Linked DNA regions of Homo sapiens: region 2 is linked to region 1. The links are contacts of gene promoters, found by promoter capture Hi-C in blood cells and fetal thymus (Javierre and others, 2016). All regions are on one chromosome and are shown on one strand. Each heading gives the region's core, a stretch centred on a gene start or on the middle of the fragment in contact. The rest is flanking DNA. Distances are from core to core; before and after follow the strand shown. Region 1 holds the start of TDRD12 (tudor domain containing 12). Region 2 overlaps CEP89 (centrosomal protein 89).

What was found. The method cuts DNA at HindIII sites, captures the fragments that hold promoters and counts their contacts. A CHiCAGO score of 5 or more calls a contact.
Region 2: a fragment that was not itself captured here is called in contact with the fragment with the promoter of TDRD12 in region 1 in 4 of 17 cell types (naive CD4 T cells, total CD4 T cells, non-activated CD4 T cells and 1 more); the score reaches 8.8 in naive CD4 T cells.

What each region holds. Positions count from the first base shown.
Region 1 is chr19:32,715,944-32,723,301 of GRCh38, forward strand. TDRD12 (tudor domain containing 12) reads left to right here and starts at 3,824. Exons shown (of 33, transcript NM_001366102.1): 1 at 3,824-4,153. The coding sequence starts at 4,130. The HindIII fragment of the contact is 20,000 bases long and covers 1-7,358 here.
Region 2 is chr19:32,932,710-32,940,067 of GRCh38, forward strand. It overlaps CEP89 (centrosomal protein 89), which reads right to left. Exons shown (of 19, transcript NM_032816.5): 6 at 7,148-7,176; 7 at 4,922-4,964; 8 at 742-960. Among named protein-coding and RNA genes, the nearest start is that of CEP89, 36 kb to the right of the region's middle. RefSeq lists enhancers at 2,910-3,411, 3,412-3,911. The HindIII fragment of the contact is 2,706 bases long and covers 2,179-4,884 here.

The DNA.
Region 1 (7,358 bases), core at 2,574-5,073:
GACCTGCCTGGGCAACATAGGGAGACCATGTCTCTATAAAAAAATTCAAAATTAGCTGGGTGGGCCAGGCACGGTGGTTCACGCCTGTAATCTCAGCACTTTGGGAGGCTGAAGTGGGTGGATCACAAGGTCAGGTGTTTTGAGACCAGCCTGGTCAATATGGTAAAACCCCGTCTCTACTAAAAATACAAAAATTAGCTGGGTGTGGTGACACATGGCTGTAGTCCCAGCTACTTGGGAGGCTGAGGCAGAAGAATTGCTTGAACCCAGGAGGCGGAGGTTGCAGTGAGCTGAGATCGTGCCACTGCACTCCAGCCTGAGTGACAGAGCAAGACTGTCTCAAAAAAAAAAAAAAAAATTAGCTGGGTGTAGTGGTGCATCCCTATAGTTTTATCTTCTCAGGAGGCTGAGGTGGGAAGATACTTGAGCCCAGGAGATAGAGGCTGCAGTGAGCAGCGATAAGATTGCGCCACTGTACTCCAGCCTGGGCAACAGAGCGAGACCCTGTCTCAAAAAAAAAAAAAAAAAGCACCATGAGACAGGGTGAAGAAAAAGGAAGCCTTGTGAATCTTTAAAAAAGTGTTTTCCGCTAGCACCAGAGTTGGAGGAGGGCAGGTTACAGTACAAATGCGGACCCCTTTTAACCTTGGGGAGACTGGGTGGCTGGACCCCCAGGGCAGTGAGTGTCTTGACTATGGGAGTGTAATATATAAATATTTCCATTTTCTGTGAGCCATGTTGTAAAAAGATTGGGAAATACCGTACTGTAGCACAGGATCTAGTCAAACAAAAAAGTGTCTCCCCACACCAAGAACTGGGAGAAGTCTATATTACCCATTTTTGTGGATTGGGAACTGTTTTGGGACTTCCTATTTAAGATGGGGTTTTGCTATGTTGCCAAGGCTGGGCTCCAACTTCTGGCTCAAGGGATCCTCCCATCTCACCCTCCCAAGTAGCTGAGACTACAGGCACATGTCACTGCACCTGGCTACAAGACCTCCTGTTTATTTTATTTTATTTTATATATTTTTTGAGACAGAGTTTTGCTCTGTTGCCTAGGCTGGAGTGCAGTGGCATGATCTCAGCTCACTGCAACCTCTGCCTCCTTGGTTCAAGCGATTCTCCTGCCTCAGCCTCCTGTGTAGCTGGAATTACAGGTGCTTGTCACTATGCCCGGCTAATTTTTGTATATTTAGTAGAGACAGGGCTTCACCATATTAGCCAGGCTGGTCTCGAACTCCTGACGTCAAGTGGTCCACCCACCTCGGCCTCCCAAAGTGCTGGGATTACAGGCCTGAGCCACCTCGCCCAGCCAGGACCTCCTGTTTAAATCAGATCCTGTCATTTTCCATCTCTTTTTGGCAAGGTCTTGAGCTTTCAGGTGAGTTGGCCATACCAGGTGCCTTGATTGGAGGGGAGGCCTTGTCAACCTAATTTCAGGAACAGGTGAACATCACGCACTTTGCAGCTGTGTTTTTCTCCCGACTGGCAGCTACACACCTTTCCTCTGCAACCATCCTGCCTGAGAGTTTAAGTGCATGTTATCTGTGGGACCTCGTGCAATCCAGTTTTCTTATAGAACTGCATGCTTATGTGAGCATTCTGTTCCCCAAATAATAACTCCACAGTTTCCATGCTCTCTCCAAACTCTTGCAGTCTTTTGTCATCTTGTTGGTTCCCTTACTAGCAAATTAACTCGTTTAGACTCGGAGAGCCCTGCCAGTTGAAGTCCAGCTGGGAAGAAATCCAGGACCAGGAACCTTTCCAAAAGGTGCAGATCAAATGGAAATGTTGCCAGGAGGCCACGAAGACCCAGGGATTCATGACTGTCCAGGACTCTTCCTCACCACCAAGGCTTCCAGCTCACAGCGTTTAAGGGGTGTAGGCTGGCCTAGAGAAAGCAGGAGGACAGGGGCCCCTTAGCAGGCAACAAGGACCAACTGAGGGCCTGGTGTGGTGGTTCATGCCTGTAATCCTAGCTGCTCAGGGGGCTGAGGCGGAAGGATGGCTTGAGCCCAGGAGTTCAACACCAGCCTGGGCAACACAGCGAGACCCCCATCTCTACAAAAAAATTAAAAAATTATCCAGGCGTGGTGGTGCATGCCTGTAGTCCCAGCTACTTGAGAGGCTGAAGATGGAGGATCAACTGAGCCCAGGAATTCAAGGCTGCAGTGAGCCATGATTGTGCCACTGCACTCCAGCTTGGGCAAGAGAGCCATATCCTGTCTCTTTAAAAATAAAATAATGAACTTGTAACCACCTAATGGGTTCACCTTGCCCGCTGCCTAGACAGAGCCAATTTATCAAGACAGGGAATTGCAATGGAGAAAGAGTAATTCACGCAGAGCCGGCTGTGTGGGAGACTGGAGTTTTATTATTACTCAAATCAGTCTCTCCGAGCATTTGAGGAACAGAGTTTTTAAAGACAATTGGGCGGGTAGGAGCTTGGGAAGTGGGGAGTGCTGATTGGCCAGGTTGAAGATGGAATCAGAGGTTGTTGGAGTTTTTCTTGCTATTTACTCTTCCTGGTTGGTTTGGCAGAACTGGTTGAGGCAGATTATCGGTGTGGGTGGTGTCAGCTGATCCACTGAGCTGATTCAAGGATTGTTGTCTCATGCCTCCCTAAAATGTAAAAGACCAAGTGAGGCAGGAAAATAGGGTCTGGAGGTAGGGAACATAAGGCCGATTCACGCTTCAGCTATAAGGGGAAATACCCTCTCCATAGGGCATACACCGAGTAAATGACTTCGTAACTTTACTTCACCGTCTTCATTTACATCGGGCGTACCCCAAGCAGAAGGTATTTAAATTCACAGAAATTCTGCCGGGCCTTTGAGTCCCTGTGTTCAGGCCTGCTCCCACACTGTGGAGTGTACTTTTTCAATAAAACCCTTCATTCCTTCCTTGCTTTGTGTGTGCCTTTTGTCAAATTCTTTCTTCAAGACACCAAGAACCTGGACACCCTCCAACTTTAACACAAGCTGTGCCTCGACCACGTCTAGCAAATGTCGTTAGGACTTCCTGTGTCAGGGGCGCCTGTCCTCAACCTTGGCAAAATTTTTTGTTTTGTTTTGTTTTTTGAGACAGAGTCTCACTCTGTCGCCCAGGCTGGGGTGCAGTGGCCTGATCTCAGCTCACTGAAACCTCTGCCTCCCGGGTTCAAGCGATTCTCCTGTCTCAGCCTCCCAAGTAGCTGGGATTAGAGGCGCTCCCCACCATGCCAGGCTAATTTTTCTATTTTTAGTAGAGACGGGGTTTCACCATGTCGAGGATGCTAGTCTCCAACTCCTAACCTTATCAGGTGATCCGCACCCCTCGCCTCCCAAAGCGCTGGGATTACAGGCCTGAGCCACCTCGCTCTGCTGGCCAAATAAACTTTCTAAATGAACTGAGACCTATCTCACATTTTCAGGATTCACAGGCTCTTATCAATTTTGTTTCAGAGTCAAACCATGGACTGAATTCCTTCCCAAGGTTAGTTGGGCTTCCGCCCAGGAATAAACAAGGACAGCTTAAAGGTTAGAGGCAAGATGGAGTTGATTAGGTCTGATTTCTTTCACCATCACAATTTCCTCAGTTACAATTTTGCAAAGGTGGTTTCCAACGGACTCAGCCGCACGCGGCCCCTCTGTCCCTCCGGGGGACAGGCGAGTGTCCCTGGGGCCTGCAGGGCAGTCCTGCTGGCTGCAAAAGAGAGAATCACGCGACCCCTAGCCGGGCCTCCCAGGGCCTCCGCGCGTCAGTCCTCCTGGCCACCGCGTGGCGCTGTGCCTTACGTTGTTGGGCCGTTGGGTGGACCACGTGGTCTCCGACGCCTCAAGGCCTGCTCAGCGTGCGCGGGCATCCGGTGGGTGCGGGAGGCCCGAGGCCAGGCAGGCAGGGATCCCGCAGCGAGGGGCTGGTTACTGCCAGGACGGAGCGCATTGCCTCGAGCCGACCCCGGGGTCCGCGAGGGCTCCTGGGGACGAGGAGTGTGGGGCACCTGCCGCGGGGGGCCCAGGCGCTAAAGGTGGAGGGAAGGAACGCACTCGCGGCGGGGGCCTGGCCGGGGCGGACGCAGCCAGCCTCACCCGCGACGGTAGGGGACTTCCAGGGCGAGGGGGCCCATCTGCCCTCGGGCGCCAGGAGGATGCTCCAGCTCCTGGTGCTGAAGGTGAGCGCCGCCAAGCCAGACCCACGCCAGACCCACGCAGTCCCCCACCCCCACCCCAGCCGCGCACAGCCTCCCACCCCCACCCCAGCTCCGCACAGCTTCCTACACCCACCGCAGCCCCGCACAGCCTCCCACCCCCGACCCCAACCCTACACAGCCCCCACCCCTCCCCCCATCCCAGCCTCCACATCCCTCCACACCCACTCCTCCCAGCCCACGCATCCCCCCCATGTCCACTCCCTCTCAGCCCACACCTACTCCCCACGCCCACTCCTCCCCCAACCCACACATCCTCCCACACCCACTCCCACCCAGCTCCACCCCCACACTCACACATGCCCCCACCCCATCTCACTGCTGCACACTCCATCCCACTCCCACACATCCCAACCCCGTATATCCCATGCCGCCACACCACGCCCCCACTCCCACCCCACTCCCACCCCAACCCATCCCACTCCCAACCCCACACACCCCCAACTCCTACCCTAGCCCCAGCTCCCACCCGTTTCCTTATCGCTGCCCACCCCACAGTCACACCCTCGCCCCTGTCCCCACCCCATCCTTATTCCCACCGCCCCCACTCACACCTCCACCCCAACATTTCATCCCCCCACACTCAGCCCCACACACCCCACCACCACCCCATCTCCACTCCCACCTGCACCCCAGCCGCAGCCCACCCCACCTCCACTCCAACCCCACCCCGCCCTCCCCCACCTGAACCCTCCCTGCGCCCCCACCAGGGGGCACCCCGGGCTGGGAGCTGGGGTAGAACCCGGATGAGCCCGGGTTTCACGGGCCCTGGCGTGCTCCGGGATGCACCTGGAGGAGCGCGGAATTGGTTGCTCCTCCGAATGCTCGATCACCCGGGCCAAGCGACACTGGCGTCCCCAGGGCCCCGCTCTCCGTACTCCACGGGGCCCTTAGGCTCGGCGCCTGGACAGGGTCGGGTGGCCCGGGCAGCCCCAGCCCATGGGTCCGGGCTTCCCTCATGCCCCCAGTCTCTGTTGCCCTATCCGCTCACCGCGTGGGCTCTGCGTGGGCGTTGTTCTAGTCCTCGGGGAAGGGACGCCCGCCTGGACCCTTGCTTTTCCCCCTTGGAGTCCAGTGAGGGCTCATTGGTGAAGGGGAAAGCGTTGCTGGAGGAAGGAGTTGACAGGCCAGAGCAGAGGGGTGGGTATGGGTTATTGGAGAAAGGAAATCTAAATACTTTGAAAATCACACTTCAGTGGGCCCAGGAGCTGGACGTAGCAGATTGTGGGATTGTTTTATTTTATTTTATTATTTATTCATTTATTTTTTTGAGATGGAGTTTCGCTCTTGTTGTCTAGGCTGGAGTGCAGTGGTGTGACCTCAGCTCACTGCAACCTCCGCTTCCCGGGTTCAAGTGATTCTCCTGCCTCAGCCTCCCGAGTAGCTGGGATTACAGGTGCCTGCCACCACACCTGGCTAATTTTTGTATTTTTAGTAGAGACAGGGTTTCACCACGTGGCTGTTCTCGAACTCCTGACCTCAGGTGATCCACCTGCCTCCGCCTCCCAAAGTGCTGGGATTACAGGCGTGAGCCACCGTGCCTGGCCTATTTTATTTTATTTTATTTTATTTTATTTTATTTTATTTTATTTTGAGAAGGAGTCTTGCTCAGTCACCCAGGCTGGAGTGCAGTGGCGCGATCTCAGCTCGCTGCAAGCTCCGCCTCCCGGGTTCACGCCATTCTCCTGCCTCAGCCTCCCAAGTAGCTGGGACTACAGGCGGCCACCACCACGCCTGGCTAATTTTTTTTTTTTTTTGTATTTTTAGTAGAGACGGGGTTTCACCATGTTAGCCAGGATGGTCTCCATTTCCTGACCTCGTGATCCACCCGCCTCGGCTTCCCAAAGTGCTGGGATTACAGGCGTGAGCCACCACGCCCGGCCGGTGCGATTTTTAAAACCAGCACTCTCCTGCTCTTACTTGATGTCTTGTGTAATCTCTCTGAACAAAGATTCACAAATGTTTGAGGAAGCTGACTCTTACAGAGAATTTGCCCTCAGACTTTTAGGTGTTCAGATCCACCAGGCGAGCTCCTCTCCTCCAGTCAGATGTTGTCTGTCAGTCCTAACGATGCTAGTCCGATTTCTTCTTTAGAAGAGACAGGGCTCTTCCAGGGCTACACATCCTGAAACATGCACAACCATCCCGGCAGAACTTTGATAGCAGGAGCTGGACTTGCTGCCTCCTGTTCGCGAACCCCTTTCCTCTCAGTTGGGCCCAGGAACTCTTTCATTTACCTGCTCAACTCTGATCTGCCCCCACTTCTGGCCCTCAACCAGCTCACCCCCTGAGCAAATTCTGTCCTGAATAGGAGTGTCTCCCCAAGTGCTGTGTAGGTACCACCTGTCCTGCAGATGAAGTTAGCTTTTACAAGGATGAAATATTTTTCCCTCCATGTATCCATCAACAGATGACTGGGTAAACGGAAGGTGGTTTGTACATACACAATGGCATATTATTTAGCCTTAAATATCTGAGAAATCTTTGTCTGACTCACAGTCACAAAGATTTTTTTCCCCCATGTATCCTTTTATTATTTAAAAAAAATTTTTTTTTTTTTTTTTTGAGACGGCGTCTCGCTCTGTTGCCCAGGCTGGAGTGTGGTGGAGCAATCTCGGCTCACTGCAACCTCCGCCTCCCGAGTTCAAGCGATTCTCCTGCCTCAGCCTCCTGAGTAGCTGGGATTACAGGCGCGTGCCACCACAGCCGGCTAATTTTTATATTTTTGGTAGAGACGGGGTTTCAGCATCTTGTCCAGGCTGGTCTGCAACTCCTGACCTCAAGTGATCTGCCCTCCTCGGCCTCCCAAACTGCTGGGATTACAGGCAAGAACTGCTGCACCTGGCCCCCCCATGTAACCTTTTAGAAGTTTTATAATTTTATATTTTACATTTAGATATATGATCCGAGTTAATTTTTGTATATGGTGCAAGGAATGGATGAAGTTTCATTTCTTTGCACGTGATTATCTAACTGTTCCAACATCATTTGTTGAAATGACTATCCGTCCTCCTTTGTGTCTTATCAAAAATCAATTGACTATATGTGTGATTATATTCCTGTTATATTGATTTATGCACAATACCACACTGTCTTATTACTGTAGCTTTATAGGTAACTATTTTGTTTTTTTTTTGAGACGGAGTCTTGCTCTGTCCCCCAGGCTGGA
Region 2 (7,358 bases), core at 2,282-4,781, 220 kb after region 1:
AGGAAAAATCCTTGAGGCCAGGAGTTTGAGACCAGCCTGGGCAACACAATGAGGCCTCACTGCTATAAAAAAAATTAAAAAAAAAAAAAACTTAGCCAGGCATGATGGCGTTTGCCTTTAGTCCCAGCTACTCAGGAGGCTGAGGTGGAAGGATCACTTGAGCCCAGGAGTTCAAGGTTATAGTGAGCTCTGACCACCCCACTGTAGTCCAACCTAGGTGACAAGAGTGGGATGCTGTCTCTAAAAAATAAATAAATAAAGTGGGCAGCTTTATGAAAGAAAAAGAAAATGACTTGCAAAGATATGAAAAAATATTCAAGTTCAATAATAACAGAAATACAAATTAAAATACTATTTCTTTTTTTAACCTATAAAAGTAGCAAGGAAAATATAATCATTGGTAAGTCTACGGTAAAGGAGGAGCTTTTTTATGCTTCTCTTAGGGATAAAAACTGAAGTGAAATATATGTAAGCTAAGCATCAAGTTCCAAAAGAAGTATTGGAATCTCTGTTTTGTTTTTGTAAATTCAGCTTCTTTCCAACCTGAGGAATTTCTTTAGTGTAATAATGATATAGCAGATGAAATCAAATCTCAACAAACATAAGGATATTAACAAAAAAACCTGAAATATTACAACATAAATTACCAACACAAATATCACAACATAAAATATTAACTCTCAAAATAATTGAGTGAAGTCCTGCTCATTCCTCTAATAAAGGCACTCTGTCTGTCCCCACCTTCCTGTGACGACGCCTTCTCAGCCTCTTTGAGCTTTCTCTTCTCTTTTTCCATTCCCTTAAGTTTTAACTGTAGTTCTTTCATTGCTTGTTTCATTGTGTTTAGTTCAAGGGTAAGGCTTTGATTCATATTGTTTAGGTCCATATTTTCTTCTTTTAATGCCTCAAACTTTTCTCTGGTTATTTCTGTATATCTTTGACGTGCTCTACCAGTTATATCTGAAAGGGTTCAGGGGAAAATTTTACAATGTTAATTGATGTTGACAATGTTACATCAAAATCAACTGACTTTGTTCCAAAAACCACATCAGGCCTGGTGCCATGTTCTTTGGTCCCTGGGAAGGGAATGGCTTCTACAGGAAACAGTAAGTGGCCTGATGAAGTCACAGCGGGTGGCAGGAAGAGAGGTACTGAGGGGAGGCCAGAAAGGGAGGCCAGAGCTGCAGGAGGCCGTGCCTATTGTGATGTGGCATGGAAAGTTCATCTTGCAGGGCAGCAGGAGCCAGCAGGGCTTTCAAGCAAAGGTGTGAGAAGGAAGAGGCTCTGCTCTTGGGTGAATCCCTCAGGCCAGCAGGGAAGAAGGCAGGTTAGAATGAGGCCTAGCCCAACAGCTGAGGGGCAGCACTAGAGTGGGGACACAGAGAAAAGGACACATGAGAGCAGGACTCAGGGGCTGGTGGCTGGCTGGGTGCGGGCAGTGAGAGAGAAGCAGACCCAGGATGACCACCCAGGTCTGTGTCTGGCAGATGCTCCCCCAGATGAGGAGCACACTGTGAAGAGCAGGTGGGGATGGAAGATGAGGAGAGGCAGGCTTGGGTTGGTACAGAGGCCCAGAGTCCCAGGGCAGCCTCTGCTGGGGAGACTGACGAGCCACTGGCCTGTGGGCAGCACCTGAAGGCACCAGGGTGAGGAGAAAACCGAGGTCACATAGGACCTTAAGAAGGAAGAGCAAGAAAGTGGGGTGGAAACCAGCGCTGTTCCACGGGGAGATGTGCTCCGAAAGGTCACAGGAGGTGAGGCTCCCATGGGCCCTGGCCAGCGCACCTCCCAGGGGAGGGAGAGGCGGAAGCAGAGCTTCCACACAGACGAGGGCAGGATGGCTGGTGGCTCCAGAGAGCCTGGCCCAACCTCTGACACACACATATCCAATCCCTAACATGCAAAAGGTGAGGCTCAGAAATGGGAAACTCCACAGCTACATAGAAACAAGGGAACCCTGAGAAATCCCAGAGATAAAACAGTTGAGATGAGAATGAAGATGGGTGCCAAGCCTGAAATGTGCCAAGAGAGGGCAGCTAGAAAATGGGGAGGGGTGGCTCCAGGGATACACCTTGCCCTGGTAGGAGTGGAGACACAAAGTGGCCTAGAAAGAGCTGATGAGGCTGGGCCTGGTGGCTCGCACCTGCAATCCCAGCACTTTGGGAAGCTGAGGCAGGAAGCTTGCTTGAGGCCAGGAGTTCGAGACCGGCCTGAGCAACATAGCAAGAGCCCATCTCTACAAAAATCAATCAATAAATAAAATTATATTTAAAAAGAAGCAGCTTGAAGCAGCTGATGAGCTGTTGAGTTAGATAACCAGAGTGGGAATAGCAAGGGGTTAACCCACCTGACCCAGGCAGCAACAGCAGAAATGTGTGCCCCTCCTCAGGCAGAACACACAGGCCCTGAGGGCAGAAAGGCAGGGCAGGGGGCTGGAGAAAGCCAGGAGGAAGAGGGGTCCCCACGGATCCCGGTGGGCCTCACATCCTGTCCATCCCCATCAGTTGCTGGAGGCAGCAGTCGGTACAGCCTGGCAGCCTGCTGGCTCTCCCTCTTCAGGCAGGGTGCAGTAAACAGAGGTAGCATCCCCATGTGGGCCACAGGGAATCTCAGAGACCCCAAGAGGTATCAAACAGCAGAGCCAGAGAACACCAATGGCAAGTGAGAGAAGAGAAGGGGCTGCAACACAAACCCTAAGACTGGATGCGCATGGTTACAACTTTCAGAGAGACGTAGTCAGTGTCACAGAAATCATGGAAGTTAACGTTTGATTAACACCATAAACTGAAAGGATGGGCTGAGCCGCAGGATACACATCATGAAAAATGAATGCATGGCGCAGAAGTTGGAGCCCCAGCAATCGCCCAGAATACAGCATTGAAAATGCTGAGATTGAAAGGGTGCAAATAAAGTTAATCTGACGCGGAGGAGACTTAAACCAGGATTTTCAGAGCAGTGACACTGATGGCAGCAGTGGCCCATCTAGAGTGGCCACCGCACAGACTCTAGAGCAGGGAGGTGTGGCCCAAGCCTCTTGCTCCATGGAGCAGGCAGGAGCCCCGGCCCTCCCTGGGTGCTGCTGCAGCTGCCCAAGCCCGGCTGCAGACCCGAGAATCTCTGTGTTCTTGGGGGCCCAAGAAGGCCCCCACCACCCACCATAGGCTCCGAAGTGCCTGATCCCACTGCCTGGCTTCACCCCACTGTGGGCACCTGCTCCAGAGGTATGGTCAGGGCTGCATGCTCCACAGAGCCATCAGGAGCCGGGGACAAGCGGGAGCCCTGCCCCTTCTGAGTTGGTGGGGCAGGAGCTCATGGGGTGCTGCTACAGTTGCCCTCCCATGTGTAGGACCTGGGTGTCTCTGCAGTCTGCACCCTCGGGGGCCTGGGAAGGCTCCCGTGTCCCCGCAGGCTTATGGGTGTTTGCTCTAGCTGCCTGGTCTCTCCCTGCTCCTGGTGCCTGCTCCAGTCTTGCAGCAGGGTTGGAGCGGGGTTTAGGCCAAGCCTGGGCACTGTCACAGCCTGGCTGGGAGTGTGCATACTCAGGGCAGTACTGACACGACAGCGCCCTGCCGCCTCAGCCCCCTCCAGACTTTGGGCACCCATGAGCACAGGAGGGAAAGACAAGGGGGTGCTGAGGATGGCTCTGCACTGGCCTGCAGTTGCCCCTTGGTGTGAGCAGCCTGGGTGCCATGGACTGGGCAGCAGGAGGGAGACAGGTTCCTGGGCAGAAGCAGGCAGGTCCCCGGTGAGGCCCCGCCTTCAGGTCGGAGAGGGCCTGAAGGCTGGGGACCGGGTTGCCTGTCCCGTGGGACTGCAGTAGGAACTTATGGTGCCTTTTCCAGGCCCACCCATGGCCACCCATGGACCAATCGGTGCGCACTTCCTCCCTTCTGAGGCCCATAAAAGCCCTGGGCTTAGTTGGAGCAGAGCAGATGAGATGACCAGCTGCAGAGAGGAGTTCCCCTCTCTGCTGATAGCTGGAGATGTCAGAGGACCAGCAGCAGAGAGGAGCAACCCACTCCAGGGCCTCCTCTCTACTAGGAGCTGGTCAGAATAACCAGCTGCAGAGAAGAACAACCCTCTCCAGGGCTTCCTCTTTGCTGAGAGCTGCAGAGACAGTTGGGTGACCTGCCTTCAGAGAGGAGCCATCGACTCCAGGGGACCTCCTCTCTGCTGAGAGCTGAACACTTAACGGGACGACCTGCCTACAGAGAGGAGCTACCCACTGTGGGTCTCCTCTGAACTGTTCTAACATGCAGTAAAGCTCCTCTTCGTCTTGCTCACCCTCCACTTGTCTGCTTACCTCATTCTTCCTGGACGCAGGACAAGAACTCAGGCAAAGGCACACTGGCACCACAGACATTTCCGACCAGAAAAGCGACACCCCAAAGATCTTGTAACAATGTGGGACCTAACAGCAAAAATTATAACCTCCATTTTGGAAGCCACTGAAGCTCCCCAAACTGTTCAGGGGGCATAACCCATAAAGCATCTCTAGACCTCTCCCTCTGCCTTCAGCCTCAGAGCAGAGCCCATAACTGCACCTGCCTTCCCAGTACGGATCCCAGTACATCATGGGTCCACTCCTCCCACTGGGATCCCAGCACATCCCACAGGTCCTCCTTCCACCCCCAGGATCCCATTACATCCCACAGGTCCACCTCCCTTCCCCCAGGATCCCAGCATATCCCACAGGTCCACGTCCCCCCAGGTCCAACCCCCACCCTCCCAGGACCCAAGCACATCCTGTATGGACATACGTCCACTACCTAGTGTTTGGACCCTCTCTTTTGAGGCAAGGGTGAAAGTTCAACAACTAATACAAGAAAAAGAAAATGTAATCTTTATTTTCAGATAAAATTAATCTGGATATTCTCCAAAACAAGCTTTTCAATCATAATATAATTCAAAAGGCAAATACCTGGGGAGGGTGGAGGTTTCTCACATAATGGAGGTTTTTCATCCTAGGAAAGAAAGAACATAAGAGGAATAAGTGCAGAGCATTAGTGTTTTATAAAGTGGACACACGCAGCTAGGTCATTAGACAGCAGGTATATAAGCATGCTTTATTTCCTTCATTTTGACTCTTGTTCTTTGTTTGTTTTAGCTTTCAAAACTTTAATATGTACTATTTCTTTTTTTCCTTTTTTAAGACAGGGTCTTACTCTGTCACCCAGGCTAGGGTGCAGTGGTGTGATCGCAGCTCACTGCAGCCTCCAACTCCTGGGCTCATGAAATCCTCCTACCTCAGCCTCCCAAGTAGCTGGGATTACACATGGGCCATCACACCTAATTTTTTTTTTTTTTTTTTTGTAGAGATGGGGTCTCCTGTTGTCCAGGCTAGCCTTGAGCTCCTGGGCTCAAGGGATCCTCCTACCTTGGTCTCCCAACATGCTGGGATTACACTGTTTCTTATACCTGAATCTGAGACCTTAAGTGTCTTCCCCTCTGGTGGGCTCTCTGAGGCTATAAAGGAAGTCCTGCCTGAGCTTTCTTCCTGCCTTTCTGCACTGAGTTCAGTGACTGTCCTTACAGGTAGATCCCGTGAGTAGCGGGCTGTGGGCTCACGTTGAAAAGCATGTGCTAGGTAGGGCTGCAAGTGCTGAGCAGAGATGCCCTCAGCAAACTCCAGCCAGGCCTCTTCTCACTGGGATGGGCAAAAAGGACCCCATCAACTGCAGGGAAGCACATTTGCAAAATGCTGAGAAAGGAACAGTAAGATATTGCTTCTCAACCCCAAACCTAGAGGAAAGGGAAGGCTGTGAACTTTTGTTAATTTTTCCTTACATGGTGGTGTGATATTAAGTTTCTAATTTCTGCTGACAAAGTAGACAAGGTTATAAATTAACTCTGCAGAGAAATGTTTAATTTTTAAGTTCCTATGACATCGCACAATGAAAAACTTAAGTTAGAACTATTTCCATGTTTGCAAATTAGTTATTAAAATTCTCAGGCCAGGCCAGGTGTGGTGGCTCACACCCGTAATCCCAGCACTTTAGGAGCCCGAGGCAGGTGGGATCGCCTGAGGTCAGGAGTCTGAGACCAGACTGGCCAACATGGTGAAATCTCATCTCCATTAAAAATACAAAAATTAGCTGGGCATGGTGGCATGCACCTGTGGTCCTAGCTACTCGGGAGGATGAGGCAGGAGAATCACTTGAATCCAGGAGGCGGAGGTTGCAGTGAGCCGAGACTGCGCCACTGCACTCCAGTCTGGGTGACAGAGCAAGACTCCATCTCAGAAAAATATCTCAGGCTAGGCACGTCACATCATGCCTGCAATCCCAATGCCCTTGGGAGGCCAAGGCAGGAGGATCGCTTGAGCCCAGGAGCTTGAGACCATCCTGGGCAACATAACAAGACCCCATCTCTAAAAAAAAATTTTTTTTTAATTAGCCAGGAGTGGTGGCATGTGCCTGTAGTCCCAGCTACTCAGGAGACTGAGGCAAAAGAATCACTTGATCCCAGGAGATTGAGGCTACAGTGAGCTATGATCACACCACTGCACTCCAGCCCGGGTCACAGAGGGAGATCCTGTCTCAAAAAATAATTTTAACAAAAGATAAAATTGTCTATTCATTCCACATTCATTTTAATTATAAAGTAGTTTCTAACCCTTTAATACATTACTTTCATCATTAAACTATGGAAAATATCAATTTCCTCATGTTTTAAAAGTATTTAAGGCCAGGCACAGTGGCTCATGCCTGTAATCCCAGCATTTTGGGAGGTCGAGATGGGCAGATCACTTGAGCTCAGGAGTTTGAGACCAGCCTGGGTAATATGGTGAAACCCCATCTTTATCAAAAATACAACAAATTAGCTGGGTGTGGTGGCATGCATCTGCGATCCCAGCTACTCGGGAGGCTGAGGTGGGAGGATCGCTTGAGCCTGGAAGACGGAGACCGCAGTGAGCTGAGATTGCGCCACTGCACTCCAGTCTGGGTGACAGTGAGACCCCCTTCTCAAAAAAAAAAAAAAGCATTTAAAAGAAATATTCAACAGGAAAGAACTCTTAAGGGAAGATTTATTTTTGCCCCAAAATCACCGCCAAAGTTTCAACACCAAAGTTGTTGAAAATTTATGAAAAATTATGATAAAAACTCTATTTATTGAGAAAATCAGTTTTTAAAAAAAATGATCTTACCTTTAAATTCAGAACAGGGTGTTTACCATCTGATGAAGAAAAAGAGAGAGAGATAAACTTTTAAAGTAGATAATGAAATATGACAACTCAGAAAGTACAATCATAGAAATTCACCTTCTACAGAGGAGCTCGACAAGGCCCAGAACAGGGATAAAATTCACAGGGTCACAGGGCAAGTGGGTCCCAGAGCCAGGCTGGGGCCTGACTCTAA